Regions from separate parts of the Homo sapiens genome. Here region 2 is linked to region 1. The links are contacts of gene promoters, found by promoter capture Hi-C in blood cells and fetal thymus (Javierre and others, 2016). All regions are on one chromosome and are shown on one strand. Each heading gives the region's core, a stretch centred on a gene start or on the middle of the fragment in contact. The rest is flanking DNA. Distances are from core to core; before and after follow the strand shown. Region 1 overlaps CHD4 (chromodomain helicase DNA binding protein 4). Region 2 holds the start of TNFRSF1A (TNF receptor superfamily member 1A).

Region 1 (6,767 bases), core at 1,084-3,583:
GTAGCCGCAGCCGCAAGAAACTCCGAACCACTAAAAAGAAAAAGAAAGGTGTGTTTCTCTTCTGTATATTTGTGATGGGATGAGGTGGGAGTGATTGGGGAAGAATCTCCCTAAGGAGATAGGGGTCGGGGGGTGGGGGGAGGTAGTTTTTTTCCAATAACTGGGCTTTCCCTCTTCCTTGCCCAGGCGAGGAGGAGGTGACTGCTGTGGATGGTTATGAGACAGACCACCAGGACTATTGCGAGGTGTGCCAGCAAGGCGGTGAGATCATCCTGTGTGATACCTGTCCCCGTGCTTACCACATGGTCTGCCTGGATCCCGACATGGAGAAGGCTCCCGAGGGCAAGTGGAGCTGCCCACACTGCGTGAGTGTCTGGCCATTGTGGCCCCTTGGAACCCATGAGAAGAAGGGTGGGACAGTAAAGCTCTTCGGGGCCTGGATGGAAATGGAAATGCTGGTGCTGCGGGTTGTGAGCTTTGGGAAGCATTCAAAGGAATGATGGGCACTGGCTTCAGACTGCGGTGGGCGGGTGGGGGTAATAATCTGAATCTGTGGTCCTTTACTGCAGGAGAAGGAAGGCATCCAGTGGGAAGCTAAAGAGGACAATTCGGAGGGTGAGGAGATCCTGGAAGAGGTTGGGGGAGACCTCGAAGAGGAGGATGACCACCATATGGAATTCTGTCGGGTCTGCAAGGATGGTGGGGAACTGCTCTGCTGTGATACCTGTCCTTCTTCCTACCACATCCACTGCCTGAATCCCCCACTTCCAGAGATCCCCAACGGTGAATGGCTCTGTCCCCGTTGTACGGTGAGTGACTGATCTCAGCCGGGGCAAAAAATGGGAAAGTGTAGTCTTTTCTATGTAGGCTATTGTGAGGCTGGGGTGCAGGAGAGGAACTATGAGCTTTTCAGCCCTGAGAAAGGTATTCTCCTTCATCCTATAGTGTTGGGATACTTTTGTCCTGGGAAAATATAGGACTAACTTCAAACTGAGGAGTTGATGTTTTGCCAGCTCTCTTAAGAGGAGATGAAGCAATGTTCTTCTAGCTGAGAACATTTGTCCCTGTGTTGACACCCTGCCTCAGGGTCTTGGTAGCTTACAATGTTTTCAATTTTTTTGTTAAAAAAATTTTTTTTTTTGGAGACAGGGTCTCATTCTGTCATCCGGGCTAGAGTGCAGTGGTGCAGTCATAGCTCATTGCAGCCTCCAACTCTTGGGCTCAAGTGATCCTCCTATCTCAACCTCTTGCTGAGTAGCTAGGAGTACTGGTGCATGCCACCACATCCAGCTAATTAAAAAAAAAAAATCTCTGTTGAGACAGGGTCTCACTATGTTGCCCAGGCTGGTCTTGAATTCCTGGTCTGAAACCATTCTGCTCCCTTGTCCTCATTAAGTGCTGGCATTACAGGTGTTTACCACCATGCCAGCCAGTTTAGAATGTTTAATAGGGCCACTTACTGCTTTAGATTGCTTAAGGGAGGAATTCTGTGCTCTAAGTCTGTTGATTTCCTGATTGTTCTGGCTTATTGTTAAAGTCTAACTACTGGCTCTGTTAAGCAGATAGGAGTGATGGTGGCACGCAAATCCTGGACGATGTCCAGAAATGGAGAGGGAATTCTATTACAGGTTGAGCACCCTAATCCAAAAATGTGAAATCCAAAATACTTCTGGTCCCAAGCATTTCACATGAGGGGTCCTCAACCTGTATTTTCTCCCTGGAGGAGTCCTGGGATTAGATTTTATTTGAAATGAGATCTTTTTTTATTTTTTTGAGATGGAGTCTTGCTCTGTCCCCCAGGCTGGAGTGCAGTGGGGCAATCTTGGCTCACTGCAAGCTCTGCCTCCCAGGTTCAAGTGATTCTCCTGCCTCAGACTCCCAAGTAGCTGGGACTACAGGCGCATGCCACCACGCCCAGCTAATTTTTGTATTTTTAGTAGAGACGGGGTTTCACCATGTTAGCTAGGATGGTCTCGATCTCTTGACCTCGTGATCTGCCCGCCTCGGCCTCCCAAGGTGCTGGGATTTCAGGCATGAGCCACTGCTCCAGGTCTGAAATGAGATCTGAATCGTCCTTTGATGAAGTTGAGACTGTGGGCTGTCCCTTCTCCTCCCATGGTTATGATTTGAGATTAAGTTGTCTCTTTTTCTCTCAGTGTCCAGCTCTGAAGGGCAAAGTGCAGAAGATCCTAATCTGGAAGTGGGGTCAGCCACCATCTCCCACACCAGTGCCTCGGCCTCCAGATGCTGATCCCAACACGCCCTCCCCAAAGCCCTTGGAGGGGCGGCCAGAGCGGCAGTTCTTTGTGAAATGGCAAGGCATGTCTTACTGGCACTGCTCCTGGGTTTCTGAACTGCAGGTAAGTTTAGGATAGTCTGGAGATGTAGGGGCTACGATGAAGAGGATAGTGACAAAAGAGCCTTGTGGATAGAAGGAATGAACACAGCTTCTTGGTGGCTGATTTTCTCTTTCCGCTCAAAGCTGGAGCTGCACTGTCAGGTGATGTTCCGAAACTATCAGCGGAAGAATGATATGGATGAGCCACCTTCTGGGGACTTTGGTGGTGATGAAGAGAAAAGCCGAAAGCGAAAGAACAAGGACCCTAAATTTGCAGAGATGGAGGAACGCTTCTATCGCTATGGGATAAAACCCGAGTGGATGATGATCCACCGAATCCTCAACCACAGGTACCAGCTGAGCACACGGGAGACGGGCAGTCTCCGTGGGAGAGTCCTGCTAAAGAGATTGGGAAAATGGCTGTCACCAGTAACTTAGACTTGGAAGACACTGGTTTTTTTTGTTTGTTTTTTGTTTTTGAGACAGAGTCTCACTCTGTGCCCAGGCTGGAGTGCAGTGGCGTGATCTCGGCTCACTGCAACCTCTGCCTCCCAGATTCAAGTGATTATCCTGCCTCAGCCTCCTGAGAAGCTGGGACTACAGGCGCAAGCCACCATGCCCAGCTAATTTTTTGTATTTTTAGTAGAGACAGGGTTTTCATTCTGCTGGCCAGGCTGGTCTTGAACTCCTGACCTCAGGTGATCTGCCTGCCTTGGCCTCCCTAAGTGCTAGGATTAACAGGCGTGAGCCACCACGCTCAGCCTTATATATTTATTTTGAGACAAATTTTAGCTGTGTTGCCCAGGCTTGAGTGCAGTGTCGTGATCACTGCTCATAGCTGTCCCAAACTCCTGGGCTCAAGCAATCTGTCTGCTTCAGCTTCCCAAAGTGTTAGGATTACAGGCGTGAGCTACTGCGCCTGACACTTCATGTTATTATCTTTATTTATTTATTTTATTATTATTGTTTTTTTTTGAGACAGACTTGTCACCCAGGCTGGAGTGCAGTGGCGTGATCTTGGCTCACTGCAAGCTCTGCCTCCTGGGTTCACGCCATTTTCCTGCCTCAGCCTCCCGAGTAGCTGGGACTACAGGCCATCGCCACCATGCCTGGCTAATTTTTTTTTTTTTGTATTTTTAGTAGAGACGGGATTTCACTGTGTTAGCCAGGATGGTCTTGATCGCCTGACCTTGTGATCCGCTCACCTCCTCCTTCCAAAGTGCTGGGATTACAGGCGTGAGCCGCCGCACTCGGCCTATTTATTTATTTATTTATTATATTTTTTGAGACAGAGTCTTGCTCTGTGGCCCAGCCTGGAGTGCAGTGGTATGATCTAAGCTCACTGCAACCTCCGCCTCTCAGGCTCAAGTGATTCTCTGCCTCAGCCTCCAGAGTAGCTGGGATTACAGGCGTGTGCCACCACGCCTGCCTAATTTTTTTTTTTGAAATGGAGTCTCGTTCTGTCGCCCAGGCTGGAGTGCAGTGGCGCAATCTCAGCTTGCTGCAACCTCCGCCGCCCGGGTTCAAGCAATTCTCCTGCTTCAGCTTCCCGAGTAGCTGGGATTACAGGCACCTGCCACCATGCCCGGCTAATTTTTGCATTTTTAGTAGAGACGGGGTTTCTCCATGCTGGCCAGACTGGTCTTGAACTCCCGACCTCAGGTGATCCGCCTGCCTTGGCCTCCCAAAGTGCTGGGATTATAGGCGTGAGCCACCGCGCCCGGCCTGATGCCTGGCTAATTTTTTTTTTTTTTTTTAGTAGAGACGGGTTTCGCCATGTTGGCCTGGCTGGTCTTGAGCTCCTGGCCTCAAGCGATCTGCCTGCCTCAGCTTCCCAAAGTGCTGGGATTACAGGCGTGAGCCACTGCACCCGGCCAACACTCTATGTTAATTATTAACTGACTGAATTCTGGTGTTTGAGCTCTAGGAAAGTATAAATTAGAGATAATTTTTGGTCAGAGACTGGTACAGTAGAGGCTCTGAAAACGTGTGATCTGTGGCATACCTAGAGGTCTGGTGTGAAACAAACGGTATTGCCAGTTTTTGAGAGGAAGTGAGGAGGGTTGCCTTTTCTGGCTCTGAGGGTTTTCTCTCCTGGACTTGCAGTGTGGACAAGAAGGGCCACGTCCACTACTTGATCAAGTGGCGGGACTTACCTTACGATCAGGCTTCTTGGGAGAGTGAGGATGTGGAGATCCAGGATTACGACCTGTTCAAGCAGAGCTATTGGAATCACAGGTGAGTGATTTTGGGTGAGGCATAGAGTTGTTTCTTTTTTTTTTTTTTTGAGATGGAGTCTTGCTCTGTCACCAAGCTGTAGTGCAGTGGCGTGATCTTGACTCACTGCAACCTCCGACTTCCTGGTTCAAACGATTCTCCTGCCTTAGCCTCCTGAGTAGCTGGGATTATTTGCATACGCCACCACACCTAGCTGATTTTTTTTTTTTTTTTTTTTGAGACGAAGTCTTGCTCTTGTCCCCCAGGCTGGAGTGCAATGGTGCGATCTTGGCTCGCTGCAGCCTCCGCCTCCTGGGTTCAAGCAATTCTCCTGCCTCAGTCTCCCGAGTAGCTGAGATTACAGGCGTCTGCCACCATGCCCAGCTAATTTTTGTATTTTTAGTAGAGACGGGGTTTCACCATGTTGACCAGGCTGGTCTCGATCTCCTGACCTCAGGTGATCCGCCCGTCTCAGCCTCCCAAAGTGCTGGCCTCCCAAAATGCTGGGATTACAGGTGTGAGCCACTGTGCCTGGCCAAGTTGTTTCTTCTATAGAAAAGGATTTTGGGCAGCTGTGTGATGTCTTTCTTCTTTAGGGAGTTAATGAGGGGTGAGGAAGGCCGACCAGGCAAGAAGCTCAAGAAGGTGAAGCTTCGGAAGTTGGAGAGGCCTCCAGAAACGCCAACAGTTGATGTGAGTGGGGGTGGAAGGGACTGTAGTTTGTTGGGTAGGACAATGTATCTTTGCTGCAGTCTAATGATGGTACTCTTAAGTAATGAAATGCAGATAGTAACTTTGTAGCTGAGATTACTTCACAAAGTCGGCTTCCCCACTTCTCCACATCTCTATATATCAGAAAGCACTAGGATTACTTTCTTCTTTTGTCATCAGAAAAAAAAAAAGGAGGTATATTTTGAATGATTGAAGAAGTGTTGTCTGGGGGGAGGGGCCACATAGCCTAGCTTTTATGCACTTACATAGGAATCTGGCTTAATTCAGGCTCAGTTCCTCTGGGTTTTGTTTGTACAGTGTAATTTGAGGGTGATTAAAGTTAAAAAGATGAATCTAAGAGGGACATAACGATTATTTACCTGGTGGATCCTGACTAGTAGAATTATTGTATTGGTAGGGAGTCTGTGACGTGCTTTTCCTCAGTGATCTGTAGGATCAAAATCAGGTCTGGTTAAGCCCTGTTTCCTGGAGGACCCTAAACTGAACATGAAATTGCAGTAATCATAGGGGATCTCTTCCCTCCGAATTTTCCGGAGCTCTTCCCCAAGAGGATCCGTGAAGACTAGTGAGGAGGAAGCAGCTGCTCTATTAGGGGAGGAGGGGAGTTCCTTGCCAGCTCTTGACTTCTCTGTTTCATCCTTCAGCCAACAGTGAAGTATGAGCGACAGCCAGAGTACCTGGATGCTACAGGTGGAACCCTGCACCCCTATCAAATGGAGGGCCTGAATTGGTTGCGCTTCTCCTGGGCTCAGGGCACTGACACCATCTTGGCTGATGAGATGGGCCTTGGGAAAACTGTACAGACAGCAGTCTTCCTGTATTCCCTTTACAAGGAGGTAAGGAAATCTGGGGTGGATAGTTTTTTGTGTGGGTGTTTTGTGTTTGAAGCCTTAACTTACACTGAGTAGAGAGATAAGGGAATAAAAAAATTGGTCTCTGACCTTCAAGAACACTGTGGATAATAGATAAACACATGTACACATGTGTTTAGTAGATAGTAGATAAATGTGATAGTGGATAAACACATGTACACAGCGGAAGATTTGAGGGCATGGAGCCCTGGGTAGGATTAGCAGTGGATCCATAGAGTATCAGTTCTAGGGGAATGATTGTGTGTTGAGGGAAGTAGAATTATGAGTAGAATTAGTATGGAAAGGCTTGGCTGGACGCAGTGGCTCATACCTGTAATCCCAGCACTTTGGAAGCCCGAGGTTGGTGGATCACCTGAGGTCAGGAGTTCGAGACCAGCCTGACCAACATGGCGAAACCCCGTCTCTACTAAAAATACAAAATTAGCCGGATGTGGTGGTGCACGCCTGTAATCCCAGCTACTTGGGAGGCTGAGGCAGGAGAATCGCTTGAACCCGGGAGGTGGAGGTTGCAGTGAGCTGAGATTGCGCCATTGCACTCCAGCCTGGGCAACAAGAGTGAAACTCCGTCTCAGAAAAAAAGTATATAAAGACTTAATGGGAGAGGTAAG
Region 2 (6,767 bases), core at 2,722-5,221, 260 kb after region 1:
CAGGGGTAGGAAGGTAGACAGGGTCATGACCTGAAACGGTGTGACGACTGCTGACTTCCCTTTCCTGGACTTGAGCTGATGAAGGGGAAATGGTGTTGCAGTCTCCTCTGTCAGAGCCCTCAGGTGCAGACGGCACTTGTCTGCCCCCTCAGCCTCAGCCTTGGCCCACCTGGTCCCCAGTGCCCTCTCCTCTGGCTGGGGCAGGAGGACCTGCCGGACATAGCCAGATGTATTACGGATGACTGCAGTCAGCTCCCCCAGGCTCCTGCTTCTCTTGCCTCCTGCTTTTTTCCCCAGAGCTGTCTCCTTATCTCCATTCACTTGTCTATGGGTTACTCCTGGACCCTGGGGTTAGGAGTTGGAATCAGGCTGTTAGCGATAAAAGGGTTCAAGTTGACTCATTTTCCTTATCAGGCTTAGTAGTTGAAGTGACTTGCTGAGCTTCATAATTCTTAGAGAACCTGCCATGAACCCAGCTCCCTTTCTATGACTCACCCTGCCACCCTGTGACACATAGAGTCTGAATGGCAGGTCTGGGGCTAGAACCCACGTCATCTGGACTTGGAGTCCAGTGACCCTTTGGGTTAAGCATGTGTGTGTGTGTGTGTGTGCCATGATGCGGGAGGAAGGTCCCTGCTCTCTGTAGCTGTTTTCTTCATCCTTTGCTCTACAAGCCCTAACAGCCGATTCTGTCATCCCTAGTCTGCCCCTCTCCTGTTTCTCCATCTCCTCTGACCATGATTTTTTTCTGTCCCTGGAGGGATGATGGTCTCATTCTCACCTCCTCCACGAAACGTGTTAGCTTTTCATATTCCTAGATCCACTCACTTCTCATCATCTTTTTTTTTAAACAAAATTTTATTGAAAAATGTAATATGACGTGTCAAAGTTGTAAAGTTATTGAGTAAATAAGCATGTATCCTAAATATTGAAAAATATTCTCCTTTTGTACCAGGCTATGTGTCACGGCTTTGGCGCTTTGCACAGACTATTAGAAATACCTTATAACATTAAAAATAGGACATTGAGGCCGGGCGTGGTGGCTCATGCCTGTAATCCCAGCACTTTGGGAGGCCAGGGTGGGTGGATCACCTGAAGTCAGGAGTTTGAGACCAGCCTGGCTAACACGGTGAAACCCCGTCTCTACTAAATACAAAAAATTAGCCGGGCATGATGGCACATGCCTATAATCCTAGCTACTCGGGAGGCTGAGGCAGGAGAATTGCTTGAATCCGGGAGTCAGAGGTTGCAGTGAGCCGAGATTGTGCCACTGCACTTCAGCCTGGGCAACAAGAGTGAAACTCTATCAAAAAAAAAAATAGGACATTGAAGTTGGTTTCTTTTTTTGATACAGAGTCTCGCTCTGTCACCCAGGCTGGAGTGCACTGGCAGGATCTCGGCTCACTGCAACCTCTGCCTCCTGGGTTCAAGCAATTCTCCTGCCTCAGCCTCCTGAGTAGCTGGGATTACAGGCACGCGCCACCACGCCTGGCTAATTTTGTATATTTAGTAGAGACAGGGTTTCACCATGTTGGTCAGGTTGGTCTCGAACTCCTGACCTTGTGATCCGCCCACCTCAGCCTCCCAAAGTGCTGGGATTGCAGGCGTGAGCCACCGCACTCTGCTTTTTTTTTTTTTTTTTGCCGCCCTCTCACATACCATACTCCCCTGTATCACTTATCCTTCTGAAGTTGTTATTAATCATTAATACAACTAGCTGGGCATAGTGGTGTGCGATGGTAGTCTTAGCCACTCGGAAGGCTGATGTGGGAGGCTAGCTTGAGGCCAGTAGTTCTAGGTTAGGTGAGCTATGATTGCACCATTGCACTTTAGCCTGGGTGAGAGCAAGCTCCTGTTTCAAAAAAAAAATTAATTGCTACCACTTACTAAATGCTTAATATATGGCAAACACTTGCCAAACACTTTATATGCTTGATTTAAGCATCAAGCTAGCTCTGTGAAGGGTACCAGCAGGTTTCCCATTTTTTAGATGAGCAGACCGAGGTTCTTCTCGCTGCTTCATACTGGAAACTTGCACTTGATTCTGAGGCTCCTGCTTCTTCAAGAACACTGCTTTGGGTTCGCTTCTCCTGTCCCTGGGGTCTCCCTTTGTGATGGTGGTGAGCTGCTTCCTTTCTGAATCCAGCTTCAACCCTACAGTTCTCCAGAAGCTGGACGATGGGGTGGAGTAAAGTCAGCTCCCCCCGCAGTGAGGGACACTGAAGCTCCATTCTCATCTGCGGATCACAGAGGGGAAGCCAGGAAGAGCCAGGGGACGGTGGACTTGGGGCTGGGAGGTCATCTCAGAGGGATAAGGGGTGAGGAGCTCTGGTTTCAAGTTCCAAAGCCCTAGGACCTCCCTCTTCTCTGTCTGCCTGCATTTCTAGCAGCCTCAGCAGCTGCAGGCCCTTGGGCGGGGCTGGATGTAGGGAAGGTCATTGTACCAAGAAGATAGTTGGGTAAATGTGGTACCTTTGTTGTAGGATTCTCTTGGGAGATGTCTGCATCAATGAGGATGGCATAAAGTAACCAGAGTCAGGATGTGGGGTCTGACTCAGTGACAGAAAAAGTGGCAGTGTGTCTCTCATAGCCAAAGGGGCCCTTGGACCGGCAGTCGGGAGTCTGGGGTTCTCTGTTGGCTCTGCCTCCTGGCACATTGGGTTTCTGGACCTCAGTTTTCTCCTCTATAAAACCGGGCAGTTGGGTGGGCACGGTGGCTCACACCTGTAATCCTAGCACTTTAGGAGGCTGAGGTGGGCAGATCATTTGGGCCCAGGAGTTCAAGACCTGCCTGTGTAACATGGTGAGACCCTGTCTCTACAAAAAATACAAAAATTACCCAGGCGTGGTGGTATGCACCTATAGTCCCAGCTGCTTGGGAGGCTGAGGTGGGAGGATTACTTGAACCTGGGAGGTCGAGGCTGCAGTGAGCTGCGATGGTACCACTGCACTCCAGCCTGGGAAACGGAGCGGACCCTCAAAACAAAAACAAAAATGAAAAACAAGCAAACGAAGAAATAAAAAAACCTAGGGGGTTGTAGTCGATGATCTGTAAGGTGAGTTATAATTGATGTATTGGAATATTTAGGAAAAGGGCACTGGGAATATGCTAGGAACACCTGATGGAGGTATCTTTATTTCCACGGCAGCTTCGTGGATACGTCTCATTGATTCTCATGGCATCACTTTCCCCATGTAGGTGGGCAGACATTGTTACCCCTGTTTAATAAACAAGGAACCAACAGAGGCTTAGGAGAGGAGTTGCCTGATGTCGCATGATTGGTGGCAGAGCCAGGATCAACAGTGGGGCAGGGTGGGGGGACCTGGCCAGGCAGAGACTGGATGAGACCTGGGGTGAGGAATGGCAGGCACCCAGTCAGGGCAGAAAACGAGGGTTGGGACTTACTTTGAGTTTTGGATTGGATCAGTAAATTCCCAAGAAAGAGGGAGACTAGGAGGCTAGTGAAGAACTCTGGAGTAAAGGGGAGGATTACTAAGGGACATGGAGTACCTATCATGTGTCGGACGCTTATCTATATCTCTCCCATCTGAACAAATCCTTACAGGAACCCCAGGAGACAGGTTATCTCCACTCTGCAAATTGGAAAACAGATCCAGACAGTTTCAGTTATGTGTCTGAGAAGTTCATTTATGTGTCCAAGACACATTCTTAGCTAAAAAGCTAAGCATTCTGAATTGGAACCCAGAGAATTTGACTCCCAGACTCTGGATCTTTTCACTGCTGTGATCCATCTGGGAAAGGCTAGTGATGTGGGCAAGGGGCTTATTGCCCCTTGGTGTTTGGTTGGGAGTGGTCGGATTGGTGGGTTGGGGGCACAAGGCAGCCAGATCTGGGACTCCTGTGCTTGTGACTGGACTACAAAGAGTTAAAGAACGTTGGGCCTCCTCCTCCCGCCTCCTGTGGCCTCCTCCTCCAGCTCTTCCTGTCCCGCTGTTGCAACACTGCCTCACTCTTCCCCTCCCACCTTCTCTCCCCTCCTCTCTGCTTTAATTTTCTCAGAATTCTCTGGACTGAGGCTCCAGTTCTGGCCTTTGGGGTTCAAGATCACTGGGACCAGGCCGTGATCTCTATGCCCGAGTCTCAACCCTCAACTGTCACCCCAAGGCACTTGGGACGTCCTGGACAGACCGAGTCCCGGGAAGCCCCAGCACTGCCGCTGCCACACTGCCCTGAGCCCAAATGGGGGAGTGAGAGGCCATAGCTGTCTGGCATGGGCCTCTCCACCGTGCCTGACCTGCTGCTGCCACTGGTGAGACCAGGGACAAAGGGAAGAGTGGGCTGGTGGGCGAGGCACCTTCCGGCTGGCGTGGGCCCTCTCCGGGAGGGGGCCGAGCCTCTCCTGCCCGGGCCTGGTCCTGGCGCCAGCCTCAGGCCTGCAGGTCCTAACCTCAGCCACTGCCAGTGTGGGGTTCCCCATTCATCCGCCTTTTGGAGTAGGGGCTGCGCTGAGGCAGGGGAATGGGAGAAGTTTGAAAGGGAGAGAGTAAAAGGAAGCCCTGGCCCCTGACAGCGGTGGAAGTTTGTGGGCGGCCAAGGGAATGTGGGCAGGAGATAGGCCCAGGGTGGGGCAGATTTGGCGGGGAAAAGAAGGGAGTGGGAGTAGGAAGATTAGTGCTCGGGGAGTCCAGACGGTTCTGAATTCTGTCCCTCCGGTCAGCTGGCTGGCCTGGAGGGTGTTGGGCCGTGGGGAGGCGAGGCTGCCTGTGGAACTTGGTGGAGCACACCCTGTAGGGCAGGATTTTGGCGGCTGGTGAAGTGGGGGAGTGAGTTGAGGAGTGGGGATGGGCTGGTGTGGTGGGTTTGGGATGCTCATGGTGGGAGGTATTTGAGAATGGGCTGGGACACTGGATGGGGCAGGGCAACCCAGTGGACAGTGTCCCCAGTGCCCTGGCCAAGCCCCGGCCTCTCACCTGGGGACATTCTTTACCCTTTTGCCTGCTGCTAGGCAGGTAGCCGCTGTGGGACTGAGCCTTCCCAGGGAGCTAGTCCTACCCCCACCTGGTCAGTGTCCCTGGGCCTGTCCTCCAGCTTCCCCTCCCCGCTGCTTCTCACAGACCTAAACAACAATCCCTTGGTTTCTTATTCTACAGTTCAGTTTGGGGAAGTTGGTAGAAAGTTGTTTTCGTCACTGGAAAATGTCCCTTTCTCTGGCCTCAGCCTTGTTTCAATGTATCCTTGATCGTCCTCCACGTCTTGGTCCGGGAATCATCCTGTTCAGATGTCCTGGGCCCATCTAGTCAGGCAGATTTTCCCTGCCCTGCCCGGCCTCTGAAGGCTGCGCCTACCTCCCCTCTCTTTAGTGCCTTATACTCTTCCTCTCCTACCATTCCTTTCTTCCAGCAATCTCCCCAGACTCTCCTCAGACTTCTCAGAGCCTCTTTTTTTGAAATCTTTTCTCGCTAATCCTCCTTCCCCTCCTCTCTGCTCCGCTCTGGTCCCGGCCCCAGGTCCCCAGGCAGCACGTCTCTGGTCAGGGTCTCACTCTTCTTCTTCTGCCTCCTCCTGCCTCCTTAGTCCCACCCGCTCTTCCCTTCTTCCCACTGTCCTTCCCCCACGGTCTCCCCACCAGCCAGCTGCCCTGACATCCTGCTTCTGTTTTCTGTTTGGGGGCGGCCCCTGGCTCCCTCACATACCTCCTGCATGAACAAGAGCAGCTTATATAACCTAACCTTCCATGCCTTCGTTTCTTTATCTCCAAAATGGGTGTCACAGTCTTGACCTCATACTGTTGTTTTGAAGATTGAATAGACTGATACATGTTAAGTGTTCATTTGATTTATTAAGTGTGCGCTCTGGGCTAGACACTGTGATAGGTGCTGGGATTACAGCAGAGAACAAAATCCCTGCCCACAGCTTTGACAGTCCATCAGGGGAATAGGTTGTAGCAAATAGAAAGCACTCAATAAAGTTTTTATATTGCTGTGACTAGTAGTAATTACTGGGTGGCTACCTGTGTTGGGAAAACAGAGGGTAAAGGTAGCCTGAACAGGTAAAGGGAAGTGCCTGCGTCCTGGGGTGCTTCAGCCCAGGTGGGATTATGTCTCCTAAGGGACAGAAGCCTGGCCTGGAGCTGGAGGAAAGGGAAAACAAAGGGAATGCAACATCCTTCTGAATTTCTCACCATTCAGTGGGCAATGCAGAGCTCACAGTGTGTGTGTGTGTGTGTGTGTGTGTGTGTGTGTGAGAGAGAGAGAGAGAGAGAGAGAGAAGTGGGGTAGGGGAGTAGGGAAGAATGATACAGGAGAGACTGTGGCAAAGCAAACAGGATTTTGCTGCTCTCAAAGAGCTTACAGCCTAGTAACCAAGATGGCTTACAGTGAAAAATGATTTCAGAGCAATCCCGAGGAAAATATCCACAAATGCATTGTGATGTGGTGTCCTGGAGCACCAGTTGGGAGGAGGAGGAACTGGGGAAGGAGGTGAGCCTTAGTCCACTGCCTTTCCTTGCTTAGCAGGTCTCAGCTCCTGCGCTCAGCTCCAGAAAATTCAGGAGCTTCCCCACGCTGCTTCAGTGTCCTTCACTGTGCAACTGCAGCACTCCCTGTATAGATCTCAGTGCCTACAACTGACTGTCTTTGACTCAAGTGAGAGCTCTTGAGAGCACGAGCTGTGTATTATCCACCTCAGCATCCCTAGCACCCATACGGGACCTGTCACATTAACTGTGCCCCTTAACTATTTGCTGAAGGAATTAAGGAACAAGAGATGTGTCAGATGGGATGGCGGAGGGAAAGCCTCATAGAAA

What was found. The method cuts DNA at HindIII sites, captures the fragments that hold promoters and counts their contacts. A CHiCAGO score of 5 or more calls a contact.
Region 2: a contact is called between the fragment with the promoter of TNFRSF1A here and a fragment that was not itself captured in region 1, in 4 of 17 cell types (naive CD8 T cells, naive CD4 T cells, non-activated CD4 T cells and 1 more). The highest score is 6.9, in naive CD8 T cells.

What each region holds. Positions count from the first base shown.
Region 1 is chr12:6,593,815-6,600,581 of GRCh38, reverse strand. CHD4 (chromodomain helicase DNA binding protein 4) reads left to right here. Exons shown (of 40, transcript NM_001273.5): 8 at 1-48; 9 at 187-365; 10 at 570-809; 11 at 2,157-2,360; 12 at 2,483-2,688; 13 at 4,445-4,576; 14 at 5,152-5,248; 15 at 5,932-6,123. Among named protein-coding and RNA genes, the nearest start is that of CHD4, 10 kb to the left of the region's middle. RefSeq lists enhancers at 3,390-3,889, 3,890-4,391. The HindIII fragment of the contact is 5,750 bases long and covers 1-5,208 here.
Region 2 is chr12:6,339,280-6,346,046 of GRCh38, reverse strand. It overlaps TNFRSF1A (TNF receptor superfamily member 1A), which reads left to right and starts at 3,971. Exons shown (of 10, transcript NM_001065.4): 1 at 3,971-4,271. The coding sequence starts at 4,233. LOC112268088 (a long non-coding RNA gene) reads right to left here and starts at 243. Exons shown (of 2, transcript XR_002957396.2): 1 at 31-243. It also overlaps the pseudogene RN7SL391P. RefSeq lists enhancers at 1-170, 4,069-4,168. The HindIII fragment of the contact is 11,725 bases long and covers 1-6,767 here.